6 separate regions of the Homo sapiens genome follow, and all the other regions are linked to region 3. Evidence: promoter capture Hi-C in 16 types of primary human blood cells and fetal thymus (Javierre and others, 2016). All regions are on one chromosome and are shown on one strand. Each heading gives the region's core, a stretch centred on a gene start or on the middle of the fragment in contact. The rest is flanking DNA. Distances are from core to core; before and after follow the strand shown.

What was found. The method cuts DNA at HindIII sites, captures the fragments that hold promoters and counts their contacts. A CHiCAGO score of 5 or more calls a contact.
Region 1: a fragment that was not itself captured here is called in contact with the fragment with the promoter of MRPL50 in region 3 in 1 of 17 cell types (fetal thymus); the score reaches 9.1 in fetal thymus.
Region 2: a fragment that was not itself captured here is called in contact with the fragment with the promoter of MRPL50 in region 3 in 1 of 17 cell types (total B cells); the score reaches 5.7 in total B cells.
Region 4: a contact is called between the fragment with the promoter of ANKS6 here and the fragment with the promoter of MRPL50 in region 3, in 1 of 17 cell types (fetal thymus). The highest score is 6.2, in fetal thymus.
Region 5: a contact is called between a fragment that was not itself captured here and the fragment with the promoter of MRPL50 in region 3, in 1 of 17 cell types (total CD8 T cells). The highest score is 10.2, in total CD8 T cells.
Region 6: a fragment that was not itself captured here is called in contact with the fragment with the promoter of MRPL50 in region 3 in 1 of 17 cell types (naive CD8 T cells); the score reaches 6.2 in naive CD8 T cells.

Annotation. Positions count from the first base shown.
Region 1 is chr9:99,234,644-99,238,288 of GRCh38, reverse strand. It overlaps LOC124902230 (a long non-coding RNA gene), which reads right to left and starts at 323. Exons shown (of 2, transcript XR_007061690.1): 1 at 180-323. The HindIII fragment of the contact is 4,242 bases long and covers 1-3,645 here.
Region 2 is chr9:99,120,252-99,124,124 of GRCh38, reverse strand. All of the region lies in intron 1 of TGFBR1 (transforming growth factor beta receptor 1), which reads right to left. Among named protein-coding and RNA genes, the nearest start is that of TGFBR1, 17 kb to the right of the region's middle. The HindIII fragment of the contact is 1,393 bases long and covers 824-2,216 here.
Region 3 is chr9:101,396,473-101,400,123 of GRCh38, reverse strand. It overlaps MRPL50 (mitochondrial ribosomal protein L50), which reads left to right and starts at 1,506. Exons shown (of 2, transcript NM_019051.3): 1 at 1,506-1,623. The coding sequence starts at 1,532. It overlaps ZNF189 (zinc finger protein 189), which reads right to left and starts at 1,273. Exons shown (of 3, transcript NM_003452.4): 1 at 935-1,273; 2 at 114-240. The coding sequence starts at 967. RefSeq lists enhancers at 1,273-1,802, 1,335-1,863, 1,864-2,393. The HindIII fragment of the contact is 1,128 bases long and covers 504-1,631 here.
Region 4 is chr9:98,794,926-98,798,387 of GRCh38, reverse strand. It overlaps ANKS6 (ankyrin repeat and sterile alpha motif domain containing 6), which reads left to right and starts at 1,833. Exons shown (of 15, transcript NM_173551.5): 1 at 1,833-2,255. The coding sequence starts at 1,897. RefSeq lists enhancers at 1,569-2,069, 2,070-2,570 and a silencer at 1,691-2,310. The HindIII fragment of the contact is 11,591 bases long and covers 1,205-3,462 here.
Region 5 is chr9:99,214,692-99,218,253 of GRCh38, reverse strand. ALG2 (ALG2 alpha-1,3/1,6-mannosyltransferase) reads left to right here. Exons shown (of 2, transcript NM_033087.4): 2 at 1-1,829. The coding sequence ends at 320. Among named protein-coding and RNA genes, the nearest start is that of ALG2, 5.5 kb to the left of the region's middle. The HindIII fragment of the contact is 480 bases long and covers 1,373-1,852 here.
Region 6 is chr9:104,115,534-104,119,023 of GRCh38, reverse strand. It overlaps SMC2 (structural maintenance of chromosomes 2), which reads right to left. Exons shown (of 25, transcript NM_006444.3): 14 at 2,705-2,824; 15 at 649-853. Among named protein-coding and RNA genes, the nearest start is that of SMC2, 23 kb to the right of the region's middle. The HindIII fragment of the contact is 8,542 bases long and covers 1-3,490 here.

The DNA.
Region 1 (3,645 bases), core at 761-3,260, 2.2 Mb after region 3:
TTGGAGGTCCCCACGACCACCACATATTCAATGATTTTCTAGAATGACTCAGGTTTCAATATATAATCGTCCTCACAGTTAAGGATCATTACAGGGAAATGACATGTATTAGTCTGTTTTCATGCTGCTGATAACGACACACCTGAGACTGGGAAGAAAAAGAAGTTTAATGAACTTACAGTTCTGAATGGCTGGGGAGGCCTCACAATCATGGCGGAAGGCAAGGAGGAATAAGTCACGTCTTACATGGATGGCAGCAGGCAAAGAGAGCTTGTTCAGGGAAACTCCTGTTTTTAAAACCATCAGATTTCATGAGACTCATTCACTATCATGAGAACAGTGCAGGAAAGACCTGCCCCCATAATTCAATCACCTCCCACTGGGTTCCTCCCATGACACACAGGAATTGTGGGAGTTACAATTCAAGATAAAATTTGGGTGGGGACACAGCCAAACCATATCAGGACACAACAGAATCACCAGAGGAAAAAGACATGGGTGGAATGGAGAAATCCATGCACAGTCTTCCTATATTCTCTCCCTTCTGTAAGGAACACTGCAAGCAAGTTCCTTTCTCTAGCAACAATCAATGCAATAATGTTTCTGCCAGGAAGCCTGTTAGAGACTCAGCACCCAAGGTTTTTTTGTTGGTGGCTGGCCACATGGGCCTCTTCTGCCTGGCAACTACCAAAATTCCAGACTCTCAGAGGAATTACCTTCCTCAGAAGGAAAGCTGGTGTACTGGATAAACCACATTGTCAATCAGCCCAATCAGCCTTATCAGTTAGGGAATGATTCAAATGCCAAGTTTTCAGACACCAGCCAAGGTCCAACCTTGCAAACAGAACATTCTAGAAATAGCAGGGTCTGGCTGGCTATGATAACTCTTTTCAGCACAATGACCAAGTGGAGTTCATTTCAGGAATGAAAGAATACACATAAGTGATCACTAGAATCTGGCTCCCTAAGCTGCTATGTGTAACAGCAAATCCCAGCTGGCTGTGCCTTCACTGGTCCAAGTTCTATACATGGTGATGTGAATGCCATCAGCTCTGCTAAGCAAACTGGTCACTACCAGATTCCCTGCTAAAAATTTACCATCAGCCAAGGTCTTCTTGGCTTCTCAAATCAGAACACTGGATTTTTCTCAGTTCACCTGGAGATGAACAACTAAAGATGACTAGATCCAGACCAATCTAAACAGAAACAACGCTTGCCTCATGCATAAAGAGGCCGACTTTTTATTTACAATGGAGGATATATCCTTCTAGTGAGCCAAAATGCTTGTGTTTCAAATGTGGGGTACCACCTTTCTCAAGAGTAAGATATCTGGAAAGCATAATCAGTCATCAGAAAATTGCTTTAAGCCAGGCATGGTGGTTCACACCTCTAATCCCAGAACTTTGGGAGGCCAAGGCAGGGGGATCACTTGAGGCCAGGAATTTGAGATCCTACCTCTACAAAAAACAAAAAAAAGTTAGCCAGGCATGGTGTTCATGCCTGTAGCCCCACCTACTCAGGAGGCTGAGGCAGGAGGATTGCTTGAGCTCAGGCAGCATGTCTTCTGATATAGCTTGGATATCTATATAGTATCCCTGCCCAAATCTCATACTGAAATGCAATCCCCAATGTTGGAGGTGGAACCTGGTGAGAGGTGATTAGAGTATGGGGGTGGTTTCTCACAATGCTATAAAGAAATACCTGAGACTGGCTAATTTGTAAAAAAAAAAAAAAAAAAACAAACAAACAAAAAAACAGTTTAATTCACTCACAGTTCCACGGCTGTACAGGAAGCATGGCCGGAGAGGCCTCAGGAAACTTAGAATCATGGCAGAAGGCAAAGGGGAAGCAGGTACTTCTTACATGGCCCGAGCAGAAGGAAGAGAGAGGCAGGGAGGTGCCATACACTTTTAAACAACCAGATCTCACAATAATTTACTACCACAAGAACACCAAAGGGGAAATCTGCCCCCAGGATCTAATCACCTCCCACCAGGCCCCACTTCCAACACTGGGGGTTACAATTTGACATGAGATTTGGGCAGGGACACAGACCCAAACCATATCACACAGTCTCAGGTATTTCTTTATAGCAGTGCGAGAACAGCCTAATACATCCTCTATAAAAAGAGGCACTGCTATGCAAAAAAGAACAGAATGAAGGGCTCTGTGGTTTCTCAGGGCCTTCCAGCTCTACAGCTGTGACTGTGCATCCCAGCAGGTGCTAGCACACACACGAAAAGGCGTACTTCCCCAGACACAGTGCAGACAACGCAAAACAAATAGTACCCTGGTTACAACTTCAAAGAAGAGAAAGGGGGACAAATTTAACACACCTGTTTGGGTGATGGGCCTAGAATAAAGTATATGCCCAGTGACCCTGGCCCCACATTGTGATTTCTGCTTTGGGCTCCTGCTTTAGGGAGTGGAGACTCCCAGTTGAGTGATCTCAAAATCTGCTATGTAGCAGCTGCAGATTCCTTCCAGGTGCCCCTGATGCATGTTAAAGTTTGGGAACCACTCATCTAAGCAGCAAGTTGCTCTATATTCTACAACCCAGACCAATTTAGATAGATCCCTAGAAGAATGAGCATGTTTTCTTACTGGCAACTGTATTATTGAGTAGAACAGGAAAGACAATAGAGCACGCAACTACGTGATTCATTATCTACGATGCGTGTGACCAGAGTCAATGGGAAGAAAAATGAGTATGCATGTTTGCAGGACTAATTTAATCTTTATATATGTAATTCAAATTCTTCCCCTCATGTCTTCATTTGCTTTCTGAGGCATAAACTTCTAGACCTTTCCTTAAAATGGAGCAATCCAGACTTTGTATGACTATACCTTTGATTCCAATTTGGTGCATTTGCATGTTTTATCTTATTTTAATGCCTTCAGCATGGGAAAGAGACCCAGTTGTCAGAGTGACCAGGAATAGCATTTCAACAGTTTAGCCCTTCTCAAACCTTAACCCTACTTGGTCAATTTCACTGTGTTCCAGGCTCACCTAACATTTGTGGTCACAAAAATGCAAAACACTGCAGTTCTGCTAGCTGCTTCTCCCTATTTTGTCTCTATAAAGTCTCATGAACTTGACTTTCTCCTAAAGTTGCTAACATAATTGATTTTATTTTTACTAGCTAGTCTTGCTGTCTTCACTCCTTCCCCTTTGATTAACAATGCCCACTATTCAAAGCCTACCACTTAGTTTACCTACTTCCAGAGCCTACCCTCTAGAGACGTCAACAGGCTTATGCACAGGCTCAAAATTGGGTTCATAGTGCAGTACTGGGAAGAAGCCCTGATCTGGAAACAGAAAAGACTGGTTCTGGCCTCTGTTCTGCTGCAAACCTGCTGCACAATCTCAGGCAAGTCCCTTCCCCTCTCTGGGCCTGTCTCCTCTGTCATACAATGGAGAAAACCCAGTGAACTCGCAGCCCTTCCAGCTAGGGCATCTCAGGATTCTCTGCTTTTCCTCTGTTGGACAAGCGATCACACAGTATGGATTTCCTGGGGACAGTGCCAGTTTTGCAATCCCTGGCACCACAGCCCATACACCATGAGCATACTAGTTCTTAAACTGTGGTCCTGACTATTTGATTTCACCAATGGCAAGGGGGTTTGAGAGGGCTTCCTACTGGT
Region 2 (3,873 bases), core at 271-2,770, 2.3 Mb after region 3:
TTGTTAGATAGATAAGGGTGAGAAAGCTTTCCTGACTGGGTTTTCTTTCTCAGTGGCAGGATTTCATCCTTAGTGGCTGGCATACCAAGTAAGATGATCAAATTTAAATTGTTCAAGATGCTAACTACGATGTTTTATTTCATCAGGAAAATAAACATAATACCTCTCTGACCTATTTCATCATCTGAGCTAATCAAATGAGATACTGTACTTTATTAACACATTTGGAAACGAACATAAATGATTATATAAACACACAGAATTATCCCATATGATAAATGGCATTGTGCCAATGTGGTTTTTATTCGTAGGCCACCAAAGGTAAACTTCTTCCCAAAAGTAGTGACAAAATTCCACTGTAGAATCCCAGACTAACAGAACCACATGAAACTTTGAATATCATCTAGGCAATTCAGTTCTGTCATTTTATTAATGTAGAAACCAAAACTTAAGAAAAGCAAAACAATTTTAAAAATTTTAAAAAGAAAACCAAAAAACCAAAATGATTTATACAAATATTCTACCCAGATTACAGGCGGATGTGAATCCTCACTATATTATCACCAGCCCACGAGTGAAACCTACGCAACTATTTGCTATACCACTATCCCCATGCTAAGTAACCCTGAACTTTAAAGACTCCCAGGTGGACCTGATTTGGTTTAGACTCCTACAGTTTTGACTCTTCTGCTTGATAGCAAAAATAAGAACCAAATCCCCTGTTTAGGACCTTTCTACTACACTGTCCAACTTTGTTTCCATGCCCCAGTCTTTAACAGTGGGCATAGCTTTCTTAATCTTGAGATGCACATTTCTCTAAGCTTTACATTTCTAAAATCTGAATACAATTTACAATCAAAGTAAAAAGAAAACTCCAGCCTCCAGACTGAAAGGTTAAGACATGATGGGTTGTTGTAACCTATGTATGTGCAAACTTGGCTATACATAGAAAAGATTACAAGTTGAGTATCCCTCATGCAAAATGCTCAGGACCAGAAGTGTTTTGGATTTGGGATTTTTTTCAGATTTTGGAATATTTGCATATACATAATGAGACATCTTGGGAATGGGACCCAAGTCTAAGTATAAAATTCATTCATGTTTCATATATGCTTTATATATATAGTCTGAAGGTAATTTAATATAATATTTGAAATAATTTTGAGCATGAAACAAAGGTCATGTTAAGTACTTATGTGCAGAATTTTCCACTTGTGGCATCATGTTGGTGTGCTCAAAAGGTTTTGAATTTCAGATTGGGATGTTTGACTTGTATTCACTTCACCATCACTGTAATTATTTGTCTTGATAGCTCCCTTGCAACTATAACTTAGGTTAAACAAGGATTTCAGTGTGATTCAGCACTAAAAGGAAAAGCTACTGTGTACACAGAAAATTATATCAGAACCATGCCAGGAAATACAATTACTAGCAGTGAAATTTCCAAATATTGCAGAATAAATCAGAATTTTCAAAGTTTGCAGATGTTAGCATGGTGACAGTTAGTACCAAAGGAAGTGACATGAGGAAAAAGAGACAACAGGACCCTTGGGGTTATTATTCATGGTATTATAGTATCGGGGTAACAACTCTCGGGGTAACATATCCCAAGTTGAGATCTTGGCTCTTGGTCCCAATATAAAGGATTTCCTTGGTTGCCTCATTTCAGTACGTCTCGAGGTCACATATGGAAGCACTATTAATTCTATCTAATGCCAGGGCTACCCAGGGTTAATTCACAAGCCCATATGTCTTGCTAGAAAAGCTGAGAGGTAAACAGTTGTGTATAGTATTAATATATGGAACAGATATTTCTATCACCCTTGTTAAAGAAATAAAAATTAGCACCGAAACCTTGTCTTCCCAGGCTTAGTGTGTCATCATCTACACAACCTACCCGTAGTCTTTTTATGCATACGCTTGAATACTCTTTCCTTTTTCAACCCTTGTTACTGGCCCTCTCCAGCCTTCTATCACCCATCTTCCTCCAGTTCAGAGCTCAACTGAAATCTCTCTTTGAAATTCACTAGCAATGCCCTTCTGGTCAAATTCAATATTCTTTTCAAAACGTTTCAGGATATGAGACAGAGTACCACCCTTTCTTTATTAGTTTTTATATGACACTAAACTTCCCAAACTTACTTTGCACTTGGCCCTTTGGTACATCTCAGATGTACATCTCCAAGCCTCTTGGCCTTTTACCTGTGCTCCAAGCTTGTATTTTAACTACATCCAGGAAACACTCTGCTTGGCTTACTTATCTATGCAAAGTCAAGCAGAGTGTTGTAATCCAGTTTTTTCATCACTCTGACTTTGCTGGTGATGACCCTTATTTTCCTCACCCTACCCACTACAGCACAACTATACTTTTCTTCGCAGTGAGAGTATTTCCAAATATTACAAACATGTACCAACAGGCAAGTAAAAGACCTAACATGCACAATGTCCTTTATGCAGTTTGCTTCACTACAGCTGAAAGCAGATCACATCACTGCTGGCAAAGGTGAAGGCAAAAGTTGGAAGTTATTTAAAAAAAACTTTCAGGGACTAATGTCAGCCCCTTTTATCATCCAACCTATTCTTCTACCCCAGTTCTTCTGAGTAATCTGCCTTACCCCTTTTCTCCATTCTCAACACATGCCCCCTTCTCAAGGAGACGTGTCCTCTTTTCTCCCTCATCCAGCTTTGGAGTAAAGCATACTATATAGATTCTCCTTTTCTTTTTATTAAATATGTTGCTTATCTCTGTATACATGGCTAAAACCCTGACCTCCAATTCCCTCCAGCCTACTATCCTAGGTTTTGTTCCTCAAAATACTCAGTTCTTCTCAATTCAACCCTCCTGGGGCTACCTTGCAGCAGTAATATCAAAGTAAGCTTGTCAAAATAGAGAACACCATATAATGTACATAAAATTTTCCTCTAGTCCAGATAATATTTCACCCCTGAATTTAGGGCATCAGAATAAACGCCTGATTTTTTTCCAGATAAATTCCATTTACTTCTGCCACTTTTAAAGAATTTAAGATGCATTGTTTATCATTTAACCCACATCACATCTTAAAAGAACAGGGCACTCCCAAATTCACAAGCTCTTGTTTTTCCACATTATCTTCATTTTCCAGTCTCCTAGTTTCTATGGAATTAGCCAATATAATGTTAACTGATATCAGAGAAAACACACTAAGAATAGGCTGCCCAAATGGCAAGATGGGATTTAACAGGGTAACTAATACAAAGGCTTTCACTTAGATTCGAAATAAATCACACAAGTACAGCATAAAGATCTGGTTAGCAGATCTGAGGAGTTTAACAACACATTTTAGAAGAGTCAGAGCCTTTAAAAAGTATCTTTTAATCCATCAATTCTACTACTTACAGTTGTCTGAGGAAACAATAGGTGAGAGCAAAAATCTAAACTTGCAGATGTTCATTACAGTATTTTATGATTGAAAACAACCTATGTGAATGACAATACAATGACAGAATGAATCCTTATACAATCATAAATGAAAGACTATATAGCCATTAAAACTGGTATTTTAGAAGCATGTTTAAGGACAAGGGAATGGTCCTACTACTAAAGGGCAGGAAGTAAAGCTGTATAGTGTGATTACAATTACAGTCCTGTCAAGTGACCTTGTTTTTGTTCCACTTCAATGAGTTGAGGGGATATTTTAATATACAGAGCAGATGTGCACACTTTGCCTTACCCCAGGCCCTGAAAAGAAATGGAGAAACTTCTATGTCTAAAGGTGAGTGCTAAAACAATAACCAAATTTCTTATTTCCTCTCAATCTAAGTATGCTTTTACACAGTTTCTTATTAGATTTTAATTTGACTAGTGGGTAGGTATTATAAGGATATGGTAGT
Region 3 (3,651 bases), core at 257-2,756:
TCAGAACTTTGGAACAAAGCAGTTTTGGTACTGGTTTCCGTCCAAATGTTCTGTTAGTCTGATTTCTCTCTACCTTCTTAGATATTTTAATTAGAGAAACAGCAGATTCTTACCCAGTGAGACCAGGTTTCCATAATTCTCCATCATGACATCTTTATACAGGCTTCTCTGAGCTGGGTCCAGATAATCCCACTCCTCCTGGGTAAAAAACACAGCCACATCCTCAAATGTCAGCAACCCCTGAAATAGTATGATTTCTGTAGTCAGTTCCTGTTGTCTCAAGGACAATTCTACCACTAAAAGTGACAGAGGCAATCACTTATTGTGGCCAAGTAGGCTAGGAGGAACATGATAACTGAAAGTTCCATATGTTGCCCAATTCTGGGAACGAACTGTAACTGACAGACATCTCAGACTAGAAAGGACCTACGGATAAGGCTTTTCTGATTTATTATGCCCTGAGAGTTTAATTTTAGTAAACTGCCCCAAGGCCTCTCCAAGCTTCCCTCACCTCATTGCCTACTTCAATTTTCCATTTGCACTGGCTTGTGACTCTATTCAATTCAATTCCTTGAGGTTCTCTAAGCGTGTACCTTGGGGTCCAGGCACTGTGCCAGGAACAGAAGACACAAGGGAAGGTCAAAAATGGTGCTTCACCTGGAGAACTCACAAATGAGAGAGCTAGTCTGGAGCATTACTTATTTTCTCAGGCCGATTTATCAAGTCTCTCTAGAAAAAGAAAAAAAAAAAGGGAGCCAGTGGGCAGTTTGTTCGCGAACCGCACCCCAATGCACTAGTGGGGAGTTCCTTGCAAGGCGCTGGCCCTAAAGAGGCGGTCAGGAGGTTGGTGGGGGGCCTGGGGGAGAAAGCAGTGGTGCGGCCTAGCTGGGGTAGCGGCGAGACAACCGGGATCCCCGGGGGGGTGCTTACTTACCTTCGACTCCGGCGGGGGGCTCGGGGAAGCCATCTCCCAGGCAGAGAATAGGGGCAGGAATTGGGGGCGGCCTCACGGAAAGGAGCCTCTGGTGAGGCCTACCCGGCTGCTGGAAATTAGGCTCGACGAATACGAGGATCCCTGGCTGGGTCTGGCCAGTGCCTGCCTCGGCCCCCAGACGGTCACGACCCCAACAGCATATCAGACGCGATCCCTGGCTGTCCCCCAACCCCGAACCCCAACCCCTACTCCTGCCTGGTTACGCAGCCTTTCAGGCCTCGCTAGAGCCTCCTCCCCGCTGCCAGTTCCTCCTCCTTGCAGCCAAGTAACGCTATGACCGCCCGCCCCCGGACCAGAAGGCGTCACCCAGATTCTTCCCGAGGCCCCCTCAACTACAACTCCCGTCATGCTCGGAAAGAGCGCCGCGGTCCAGACGCCGCCAGCAACAGCTACTGGACTACATTTCCCAGCGTGCAAAGGGCGAGGGAGCCTACAGGAAAAAGAAAGCTCTTGCCACTGGGATTGTATCCGATTGGCTGGTCTGGGCGCGTCACTGCTGGCTGAAGGCTGCGCTCAGGCCCGTGGATCTCATCGAAGATGGCGGCGCGATCTGTGTCGGGCATTACCAGAAGAGTCTTCATGTGGACAGTCTCAGGGACACCATGTAGAGAATTTTGGTCTCGATTCAGGTAAAGCTTTATGGTGGACGGTGGGTCATGTTCAAGGAAAGTTAAGGAGGATTAGGGACGAATTCAAAATAGAGTGTTACGCCATCGTGGTCCCGCGCCTGATCAGAGCAAGGACAAGGAGGTCCGGTTAGGGTCCCGAGTTGAGAAGCACTCATTGAGTGGTGGGACCCAGTCTCTTCCACTCTCGGCCTTAGTTTTCTCATTTTATAACGGAAATACCACCCCCTTTCCTTTTCACTTCACTCATTCATTTATTTATTAAGCAAGCAGGATTAACCTCGTGTGCGAGACACCGAGTGTGTTGTCTGCAAACACATGAAAGCGCTTGGTAAACTAAACTCATTTGCCGGCTGTGTTTCTTCACAAGCAAGGTTCAGTAATGAAGTACTGCCTCCTCCTTTTGTTTGTTCATTCATTCAGTCATTCAACAGATTTCTTAGGGCCAGCATTACTCTAAGCGCCTAGGATACAGCAGGAAAAACAAAATCCATTCTCATCCTCGAGGTACTCCAACATATGAGGAAACAGGCCCACAGGAGGGAAGTGATTTTCCCAAAGTCACAAAGCAAGTTAATTGCAAAGCTGGATCTAGAACATATGTCTCCTAACTCCCCATCTACTGCTTTTTCTGCTGCACGGCTGCACCATGTGTAATTGTTTGAAGGTAAATCTAATTTGACTTAGATAGTGTTTAGGAAATCAAAACGTATGGTAGGAACCCTAGGGAGCAATGTATGCTCTCTTAGGTTTAAAACAAAAACCACTACAATTAGGAAAGATCTTTTTCATCAGTTCAGATATTAGCTTTCCCTCTTCTTTGGTCAATATTTGTTATTATCTCTCAAATCTCTTCCAAGTTTGTTTTATTCATTCACTCAACAAATATTTTTTAGGCTGTTTACTATATGCCAGGCTATATCTTAGGTGTTGTAAGAATACAGTGGTTACTAAAACAGACCAAATTTTTGTTCTCGTAGGGCATATGTTCTAATGGAGGAAGAAATGAACAAATGTGTAATGTAATTTCAGAAAGTGGTAAATTATGAAGAAAACTAGAGGAAATAGATTACTGAGAATGATGATTATATTTTCTTTACTATTTTAAAAATTTTATATATTTAAGATATACAACTTGATGTTGATTATTAGTCAAGATAATTATCATATTCATCTCTTCACATACTTTCTGTTTTGTTTTGTTTTAGAGAAAGGAGTTCTCACTATGTTGCACAGGCTGGTCTTGAACTCCTGGACTCAAGTAATTTTCCCACCTTGGCCTCCCAAATTGCTGGGATTCCAGGGGTGAGCCACCACACCTGGCCAGTTAGAATTTTTGTGTGTGTGGTGAAAACACTTAAGATTTACTCTCAGAAGATTTCAAGTATACAGTACAGTATTATTAATGATCGTCACCATGGTGTACATTAGATCTCTGGAACTTATTCATTCTACATAATTTAAATTTTACCTTTGTCCAACGTCTCTTCATTTCCGCCACCCCTGGTAGCCACCATCCTACTCTCTGTTTCTATGAATTTGACTTTTTTTTTGTTTGTGTTGGAGATGGAGTCTCACTCTGTCTCCAGGCTGGAGTGCAGTGGCGCTATCTTGGCTCACTGCAACCTCCGCCTCCCAGGTTCAAGCGATTCTCCTGCCTCAGCCTCCCGAGTAGCTGGGACTACAGGTGCCCGCCACCACGCCCGGCTAATTTTTTTATTTTTAGTAGAGACAGGGTTTCTCCATGTTGGCCAGAATGGTCTCGATCTCTTGACCTCATGATCCACCTACCTCAGCCTCCCAAAGTGCTGGGATTACAGGCGTGAGCCACTAAACCCGGCCTAATTTGACTTTTTAGATACTACATATAAGTGAGATCATGTGGTATTACTCTGTCTGGCTTATTTCTCTTAGCATAATATTTTCCAGGTTCATCCATGTGTTACAAATATCCTTTTTTAAGGCTGAATAAAATGCCATTTTTTGTGTGTGTATATATGCAAGCACATAATATATACATATATTCATACA
Region 4 (3,462 bases), core at 584-3,083, 2.6 Mb after region 3:
TTTTTCAGGAATATTGGCCTGAAGTTTTCTTTTTTTCGTTGTGTCTCTGCAAAGGGCATGAACAGACACTTCTCAAAAGAAGACATACAGGCAGCCAACAAACATATGAAACAAATGCGCAACATCATTAATCATCAGAGAAATGCAAATCAAAACCACAATGAGATATCATCTACACCAGTCAGAATGTCAATTATTAAAAAGTCAAAAAACAATAGGTGCTGCTAAGGCTGTGGAGAAAATACACTGTTGGTGGGAATGCAAACTAGTTCAGCCACCGTGGAAAGCAGTTTGGAGATTTCTCAAAGAACTTAAAATAGAACTATTTGACCCAGCAAACCTACTACCAGGTATATACCCAAAGGAAAATAATTCATTCTATCAAAAAGACACCTGTATATTCATTGCAGTGCCATTTACAATAGCAAGGGTATGGAATCAACCTAAGTGCCCATCAACAGTAGATTGGATAAAGAACATGTGGTACAGAGCCAGATGTGATGGCTCACACCTGTAATCCTGGCACTTTGGGAGGCCACAGCAGGTGAATCACTTGAGCTCAGGACTTTGAGACCAGCCGGACAACATGGTAAAACCCTTTCTCAACCAAAAATACAAAAAATTAGCCGGGTGTGGTGGCACTTGCCTGCAGTCCTAGCTACTCGGTAGGCTGAGGTGGGAGGATTGCTTGAGCCTGGGAGGCAGAGGTTGTGGTGAGTAGAGATTGCACCATTGCACTCCAGCCTGGATGACAGAGCAAGACCCTGTCAAAAGAGAGAGAGAGAGAGAGAGAGAGAGGGAGAAAGGGAGGGAGGGAGGGAGGAAGGAAGGGGGATAGGGAGGGAGGGAGGGAAGAGAGGGAAGGAATGAAAGAAATGTGGTGCATATACACGATAGAATATGATGGAATACTACGGAATACTATGCAGCCATAAGAATGAACGAAATCATGCCCTTTGCAGCAACATGGATAAAGCTGGAGGCCATTATCCTAAGCGACCTAAAAAGAACAGAAAACCAAATACTGCATGTTCTCACTTATAAGTGGGAGCTAAACATTGAGTACACATGGACACAAAGATGGGAACAACAAACGCTGGGGATCGCTAGGCCAGGGAGGGATGGAGGGGACTCTGGGCTGAAGAACCTCTTGGTGGGTATTATGCTTACTGCCTGGGTGACGGGATCGTTGGGACCACAAGCTTCAGCGTCGCGCAATTTACCCATGTAACAATTTACCCATGTAACAAACCTGTACCCTTTAATCTATAATAATAGTTGAAATAAAAGGTGGGGGAGAGAGAGAGAACAGGAGGCGCTTTTAGCCCCAGCAGCCTGGCCCAGATGAAGGAGCGACATTAAGGGCACCGCAGGACACTGTGAGGAAACAATCCGTTCGTTCCTTAATTCAGCCGCTTCCTTATTCTAGAAGGGCAGGTTCAGTGCCAGGGGCTGCGGTGGGGTCAGCGGAGCCCGCTAGTAAAGTCAAGGCCCACGCAGCTGCGGACTCAGACCCGGGCCCAGGGCCCTGACCACAGCGTGAAGAGGGGATGGCGTGGCCGCTCCCACCTCTGCCCTGACAGGAAGTTTCTGGAGCCCCGGGACAGGGCGGCGAGAGGGCGCCGAAGAGGCAAAAGGGAACACGCGGGTCTGCGGCGGGCGCTCCTCTGAGCGTCCCTGGACTCCCGAATACGGGCACTGGAGGTGCGCAGCCCCGGCCCTAGCGCGCTCCCGGCACACAGCAGGCGCGCGGCCCTAGCCCCGGCGCGCTCCCGGCACACAGTAGGCGCGCGGCGCGGGCGGGTGGCCGGAAGGGGGCGCCTGCGGGCGGTATCCGGGGGCGGAGCCGACGCGGCCGGCGGGGCGGACGGGAGCGGGCCGCGCGTGGCGGCGGCGATGGGCGAGGGCGGGCTGCCCCCGGCCTTCCAGCTGCTGCTGCGCGCGTGTGACCAGGGCGACACGGAGACGGCGCGGCGGCTGCTGGAGCCGGGGGCGGCGGAGCCAGCCGAGCGCGGCGCGGAGCCGGAGGCGGGCGCGGAGCCGGCGGGGGCCGAGGTGGCCGGGCCCGGGGCCGCAGCGGCGGGGGCAGTCGGGGCTCCGGTGCCCGTGGATTGCTCGGACGAGGCGGGCAACACCGCACTGCAGTTCGCCGCGGCCGGGGGCCACGAACCGCTGGTGCGCTTCCTGCTGCGCCGCGGTGCCTCGGTCAACAGCCGCAACCACTACGGCTGGAGCGCGCTCATGCAGGCGGCCAGGTGAGGCGGCGGGGCCCGGGGGCCCGGGACCAGAGTGGTGCCCGGCGCTGGCCCGAGACGCGGTCCCCGGCGGCCGGATGCCCCGGGAGGTGAAGAGTTAAGGACTCCTTAGAGTTGGAATGGTAAACTTTGAGTAGTCTTTTGTAAACTTTGAGCATAGACGTGGAAACACTTTTGAATTAACATAAAATCAGATTCTTAGAAATTTTGGCCTTTCAGAATAGAATCTGGAGACAGCGAATAGAATTGTAGAGACTTAGAACCTTAGAGATTTAATTCATTTCTTATTGCAGTAAGAGTTTCCTCAGAACCTGCCTTCCCTTCCTGGCTTGGCGTTGAGGGTGCTGCGAGACCCAGGCAGAGTCCCCACCCAGGGCATTGGTGGGCAGGCCAGGCAAAGGAACGAGCTTGACCGGAAAGGTTTGAGTAGCTGTGGGGCAGGTGACCCATTTTGGAGACGTGGGGGAAGGTTTCTGGTAGAAAAGATGTTTATATCCACGTGGAGACCTGCGGATACCTGAGAATTAGCCAGGACATTACAAGTGGGCTGTGGGAAGGCATGATGGGAGGCCCATGCAAAGGCTTGGGTGCACGAGCTGGTAGGACTGGTAGAATGAGGTATGCGTAGAATGTATGAGTAGAATGATGTACTAGTCCTCCCTGGAGAGAAGGCAGATGCCAGGGAGTTGGGGGAGTGTGGGAGCTGAGAAACGCTAGCTATCCTAGGGTGCTAGGGAGTCATGGAAGGTGCTAGGGAGTCATGGAAGGTTCTAGGCAGAATGAGTGACAGGATGAGAGTTACGTTTTGGAAAAATTACTTTCCTTGAAGTGTGAGAATAGATTAGATACTCTAGGGTAAGCTAGAGTCAAAAAGGCTGGTTAGGTAGAGTTTGCTGCAGTCTGAGTGAGAGGTGATGGTGGCCTAGACCAGAATGGAGACAGCGGAGGGAGGGCACCCAGATGAATTTGTGATATATTCAGGGAGTAGATCAGCAGGAGTTGACGACTGGCCCTTGGGGAGGGGTTAAGAGAGACAGCAAGGATGGCATCTAGAGATCTGGCTTCTGTGAAGCCTGCCATGATATCTCCCTGTTCTCTGGTCCCTCCGCAGCAGAAAGGCCTCTGTGGTAGCATCCATCACACCATGTTAATGCTGACTGGCTTCCTCAGTACCCAAACCTGGCCACACATCAGAATCACCAGGATG
Region 5 (3,562 bases), core at 363-2,862, 2.2 Mb after region 3:
TCCTCCACAGCTGCACGTGTGTGCTTTACACACCAAGCAATGAGCACTTTGGCATTGTCCCTCTGGAAGCCATGTACATGCAGTGCCCAGTCATTGCTGTTAATTCGGGTGGACCCTTGGAGTCCATTGACCACAGTGTCACAGGGTTTCTGTGTGAGCCTGACCCGGTGCACTTCTCAGAAGCAATAGAAAAGTTCATCCGTGAACCTTCCTTAAAAGCCACCATGGGCCTGGCTGGAAGAGCCAGAGTGAAGGAAAAATTTTCCCCTGAAGCATTTACAGAACAGCTCTACCGATATGTTACCAAACTGCTGGTATAATCAGATTGTTTTTAAGATCTCCATTAATGTCATTTTTATGGATTGTAGACCCAGTTTTGAAACCAAAAAAGAAACCTAGAATCTAATGCAGAAGAGATCTTTTAAAAAATAAACTTGAGTCTTGAATGTGAGCCACTTTCCTATATACCACACCTCCCTGTCCACTTTTCAGAAAAACCATGTCTTTTATGCTATAATCATTCCAAATTTTGCCAGTGTTAAGTTACAAATGTGGTGTCATTCCATGTTCAGCAGAGTATTTTAATTATATTTTCTCGGGATTATTGCTCTTCTGTCTATAAATTTTGAATGATACTGTGCCTTAATTGGTTTTCATAGTTTAAGTGTGTATCATTATCAAAGTTGATTAATTTGGCTTCATAGTATAATGAGAGCAGGGCTATTGTAGTTCCCAGATTCAATCCACCGAAGTGTTCACTGTCATCTGTTAGGGAATTTTTGTTTGTCCTGTCTTTGCCTGGATCCATAGCGAGAGTGCTCTGTATTTTTTTTAAGATAATTTGTATTTTTGCACACTGAGATATAATAAAAGGTGTTTATCATAAAAAAGAAACAGTATTAGATTTTGGTCTCCATAATCTATTTTGGTATTGTTACGAACATGGATATGACAACCAAACTGGAAATCAGAACACTAGGGTAAAGTGGATATTGAAATGAAGCAAGAATATTGTCACACATGTGTTGTGCATCTTGTTTAGGGTATATTTCTTAATGTCATCTAGGTCATTAGTTTTGTTAATATTTGTGTTGTCTTGACCAAGCTCCTACTAAGTATAGGACACAAATGTTTTTTATCTTCCAAGGCCTGGCTCAAATGCCACTGCTGCAAAGCTTTCTTTGACCCTCTGGCCACCTCCCAAGCCAGAAGTTATCTTCCCCCTCCATGTACTCTAGCCTTTTCATGACACTGATATTTTCGTGACACTGACTTATAGTTCACTGTTTACCTGTTGGTCTAACAGCAAATCATAAACAGTAGTTTTCAACATACTTCTAAGGCTAAATTCATTTCCAGAAGTAGCAAAGCTTACTAGCCAAAGGCTCCACATTTATCAACTCTTAAGAGCTAGACTTGAGAGCCTAACAGCCTATATGATTTTGTGTAAATTGATCTCTATACCTCAGCTTCTTCATCTGCAAAGTGAGATAATTGTACTATTCTACTTTCCTCATAGTGCGGTTATAACAGATTATGATAATATTACAAAGTACTTAATACTTGGCATATAGTATATATATTAGCTATTAGTATTTTGCAATTTGGGGATATTGAAAATTAGAAATTGCATGTTAGTTCATGCTGCACTACCATATTGTTCTTTTGGGGCTCTTCAATGGGTGAAATTCCATTTTACAGTTTATCATGTGCATCTGTATCACAGGAGTATTTTGGCAAAATGATTCTGTACCAAAAAGGAGTACTATAAAATGAGGGTGCCAAATATATTGAGTCTTTTATGGGATTAAAAGTTCTGTTGCATTCCATTTTCTTTGGCATTGTGAAAGCTTACCATGTAGTACAGAAGGTATGATTTGGTTCATGTGTTTCTGAGAAATGCAGCCTTTCCAGGAAGCCTGGTGGCTCTTACCATGGAGTTTAGCACAGATAGACTTGGCCACACTGTGACCTACAACATGGTGCTTACCTTACTAAGCAGCACTAAACATTTGCATATTTGACCATTTTTATGCAAATCCTTTCAAATGGACTACATGGGTTCATGGACCCTGATTTTAGCTTCACTTCATTGTCCTAAGCCGGAGTGAGTGACAATAAGATTTCACAGGTCTGGGAGGGATGGAGTCCTGCCTGCCATGAGCTTCCAGCTTCTGACCATTAGTTCCTGGTTCCTGGACCCTAGAATGGAACTTTGCCCTTAAGAAGTGTTCACACCTTCCAAAACTAAGCTGAAGTTAGGGAAAGTAGAAGCATGAAACATTGAAGGTGAATTGTTGGGGCCTTATCCATAGTAATTCTGGTAATTACTTTGTGCAGGGCAGGAAAGGAGATACATACATAGCAGATGCTTAATCCTCAACAATTCACTGAGATGTAGGTATTCTTCCCTTTTAGATGAATGTAGTTAAGCAAGTTGCCTGCGTCCCATGGCCTTGAAGAATGGACAGAATCTCAAGGCCCTCTGATTCCAAAGTCCAACCACTTTACTATTCTTCAGTCTGCCCTCACCCTAACCAAATTCTTTGTGTAATGTTTTTTCAGTACAACTCCCTCTGCAGCACTGCAGTTGTAGTTGTACAGGTCTTTGGGTTTAGAAAGACTTTGCTGTTTACTGTCCATTTGCCTCTTCCCATCAGTCTTCCGAGGTGAGTATGATTATCCCCCATCTTACACACAAGCTCAGAGAGGTGAAAGACTTGCCTGAAGGCACACAATTGAAAAGTAACTGAGCCAGCATTTGGCCCTTAGTTACCTGAGCCATCCGGGACTTTGCGCATACCAGAATTTCTCAGTCTCCTCCTCTTTGATATGCGTAAATATCATTTGTCCTTCATACATACACACATAAAAACACGATGGGCCAATAGAAGAGGGAGTATCATGTCCATAAAGAGACCCACTCAGCTAAGGGGGAGTAGTAGTGCAGTTCTTTGATCCAATGACAAATGTCTACTGAACACGTATTTGGACAGCCTTTAGAGCTTTTGCAGAGCTCATTAGAGATTGTCTCGTTTGCTCTTCACAGCATCCTTTCAGGTAATTATAGGCATTTTTAGAGATTGAAAGTCTGAGGCTTACAGCTAGGAAGCAGTGGAGCTACAATTCAAACCCAGGTATGTCCAACTTGAGGTTAACAGTTCTTTTAGTTGTACTACAGTTGCCTCTTCAGCAAATGCTTCATGACCAGCCTGACCAAAATGGAGAAACCCCGTCTCTACTAAAAATACAAAAAAAATAGTGGGATGTGGTGGTGCATGCCTGTAATCCCAGCTACTTGGGAGGCTGAGGCAGGAGAATCGCTTGAACCTGGGAGGCGGAGGTTGCGGTGAGCTGAGATCGCACCATTGCACTCTAGCCTGGGCAACAAGAACAAAACTCCATCTCAAAAAAAAGAGTAAAAACAGCACCAGAGCACTTCACTGCTCCACTCTGCTCACTCCATCTTTAATCATAACAATCAGCCCTTCTCTGTCCACCTTTGCCAGGGTCACTAATCATCCTGTGATCTCCTTCCTTTGCATTTCCACCTCCCAGAATC
Region 6 (3,490 bases), core at 890-3,389, 2.7 Mb before region 3:
AGATTCTAAGCTCTGCCACCCTGTAGTGCGTTATTTAAGCACTCTGTATCTTCATTTCTGCAACTGTATATTAGAGATCATAATAATATGCCTACCTCATCGTTGTTATTAAGAACTAATTCTTATTTAAAGCCCATAGAATAGGGCTTTATAGAATGATAGACATGTTCTATATCTGCATTGTCGAATTATCCATTAACCATTTGTGATTATGGGCTCTTGAAATGTGACTAATGCAACCAAGGAAATTACTTTTAACTTAATTAAATGTAAAAAGTCACATATGGCTAGTGGCTACTGTATTGGACAGCATAGTGTAGAACACTGTCTGGTATACAGTAAATATTATTCAGTGTTTGTTATTCTATTGTCTTGACAAAGATCTGCAAACTCAGTGTGGCAAATACTAGACCAAGAAGAATATGATCACTGTCTAAGAATTCCTTTAAGGCATTAAGGTACCATTTCAAGGGCAGGTTTAATTTTTTGTTTTACTTTTGACAGGAGGTAGGTGGCACTGGCAAACACACAAATGAGAAGTTAACATGTTTCCTGAAGAAGTGGGTAGTTGGGCTAAAAATGTACTTAAAAAAGGCATCTTCCTATTTACCACAAAGAATTGTGAGGAGAAAAGGATATAAAACTTACCTCCACTCAATGTCCCATGAGGATCAAACACATCACCTCCGAGAGTTACAGTTCTAGTCATTATCCTCTTATCAAAGGCCACTTTTTTGGCATTATCCATATTGTCACAAACAAATGTTGTTCCAAAGACAAACTCCATTGCTTTCTGAAGTTCTGGTTTATATTCAACCAAGGAAAGAGCCACATGAACGTTGTCAGGGCCAACCTGTGGGACAACAACAGATATGCCACAGTACATACTACTACTTTTCCTTTCAGATATGATTTTATAAACCAGTAAAAACTGCTGTAATAGAAACTTAAATAATACTTACCTAGCATTAAAACTCTTTCTGAATTTTCTAAAAAGCTATGTAAAACTCAAAGTTTCAGGAAAAAAAAACTGCAGGTTTAAATACTGAAAGATTTATTGCTAAGTAAAATATTTATTAATAGCTAGTATGGAGCATTATGAAAGTTTCTATCAATAAGGAGCCATTACCATGTTTCTAAGTGTCCTTCACCAACGTTGACTGGACACAACTTTAATTATAGTACAGATTGAGTATCCTTTATCCTAAATGCTTAGAACAGAAGTGTTTGTTTTCAGATTTTGGTATATTTGTATTACAGTGGTTGAACTTTCTAAATCCAAAATACTCCAATGAGCATTTTTTGGGTGTCATAGTTTTGAATTTTGGAAAATTTCAGTTGTTGGACTTGGAGTGCTTAACCTATAATTTCCAGATCAACACAACTATATGAAAATGTTGTTTCAATAATCAGGAATTTGATTTCACAACAAATATTTTCTCATACAAATGAAACATGCTAGAGCAGTCGTCTGCCAGTTACAGAAATGAAAACACAATAACTGAGAGTAAAAGTAATTTAAAAAATCCCCAGTCCTCTATTTTGATCACAATGCTTCTTCTCAGCCTTTGTTTATAGAGGCTACCTCTGCCCATCATTTAAGAAAAACTAAGCATCTCTTTTAGAGCTTAGTATCAGCAGTGGCAGTCACAATGAAGGAAGCTCTATGTAACACATGTTCAGTATTGTTCTTTGATGTGGCAGCTACCATCAAATAGGTTTGGCTAAAGGATTTGAGGCAAAGTATTTTTGCTGTTACTTGAAATCCCAATTTCCTTCTAATGCTGGGACTCGATGTATGGCTGAATTAACTTCCTGAGCCTTCTTGACTTAATGGTGAGTTTTCAAGTAAAGAAAGTACCAACCAAAAACATCACCTTTCAATTACTCAGCACTCATCCTCCCTCTCCTGATAGTATACATATCAACACAACTGTATTTTGAAATCATTTGCATTGAAATCTTCTGAATGTAACTAAGGATACAACAACATCCACTTAGTTACAAGTATATTTTTAAGTTTCATAGAAATGTCTTTTCAACTGATGTACTTGGAATGTCTGATCAATAAAAAAACTGATATTACAGCTGAATGTTATGACTGACTTCATGTTTTTACAGTATTACACAACTACAATAACTTTTAAATGTATTTCCTTGTACTAATCTATTTTCTTACTAGCAAGCATGTCACTTTAGATCAACGTCAGCAGTTGAATGGGATCCTGGTCACCTGCTATGTACCTGCACAGGCTGAATAGCAATCTAGAAGAACTCTAATAAAGAAGCATCACTGCAATACTAATGAAGGCCTTCCATAATGGCTGTGACTGTGGGCAGTTTTAGTATGCCTGACATAAAAAGAAACAAAAACAAAAACTTGAAGAATTTGGGGTACGTATCTAGAAGCTCAGTTCTAACCATTCAGGAATCAAGAGTGTAATTTTCACCATCACCTGATTGATAGTCATGTGACTTAAGGTTAAAAAGGACATTCTAATACCACAAAGTGAAGCATCAAAAGGAGTTCAAGTCTTCCAACATCTCTATTCTCTTATCATCTAATTGCACAAGCCAACCCAATTTTTTTGTATTTTAATTTTGTGGTTCTGCATATGATTATGTCCCTCAAAATTAATGTCTTCTAACTTAAAAAAACCACAGATGACGATTAAACATATAAATAAGACAAAATGAGACTTACAAGATTCTGAGCAACTCTCAGAGTTTCTGGTGCAATACATCTGGCTGAAATTTTATTGAGTGGAATTATAGTGTATCGACGTTTCAGTTCCCCCCTTTCTAGTAGCTTTTTACCAGTAACCTACAACACACATTTGAATTTAAAAAACGCATGTTAAAAATGACAGAAAATTGAGAGAATGCAAGTTTAGTAGTCTATAATAAATGAATGTTTAGTGCCATTTATCCCAATCAAGTTATAATTACATATGCAATGGAACATCATTTGAACTTGAAAAAGGAGATGCTGCCATTTGGGACAACATGAATAAACCCAGAGGACATGATGCTAAGTGACATAATCAGACGAAGAAAAAATAAAAAACTGTATGACCTCACTTGTACATGGAATCTTTTAAAAAAAAAAGCTGAACAAATAAAAAGAGTAGGATAGTGGTTATCAGGGATGAGGAGTGAAAGAAAATGGGTAGAAGTAGGTCATAGGTCAAAGGGTACATATTTGCAGTTGGGTAGGATAAATAAATCTACCTATTCAGAGATGTAATGTATAGCATGAGGACTATAATTAATACTATATACTGAAAATTTGCTAAGAGTAAATTTTAGGTGCTGTCACACACAAAAAAGGTAACTATGGAAGGTGAATGGCTATGTTAATATGTCTGACTACAATAATCATTTCACTATGTATATGTATCAAAACATCTTGTACGTTTGTTTTTTTCTTTTTTTTTTTGAGATACAGTCTTCCTCTGTTGCCCAGGCAGGAGCGCAGTGGTGCAATCTC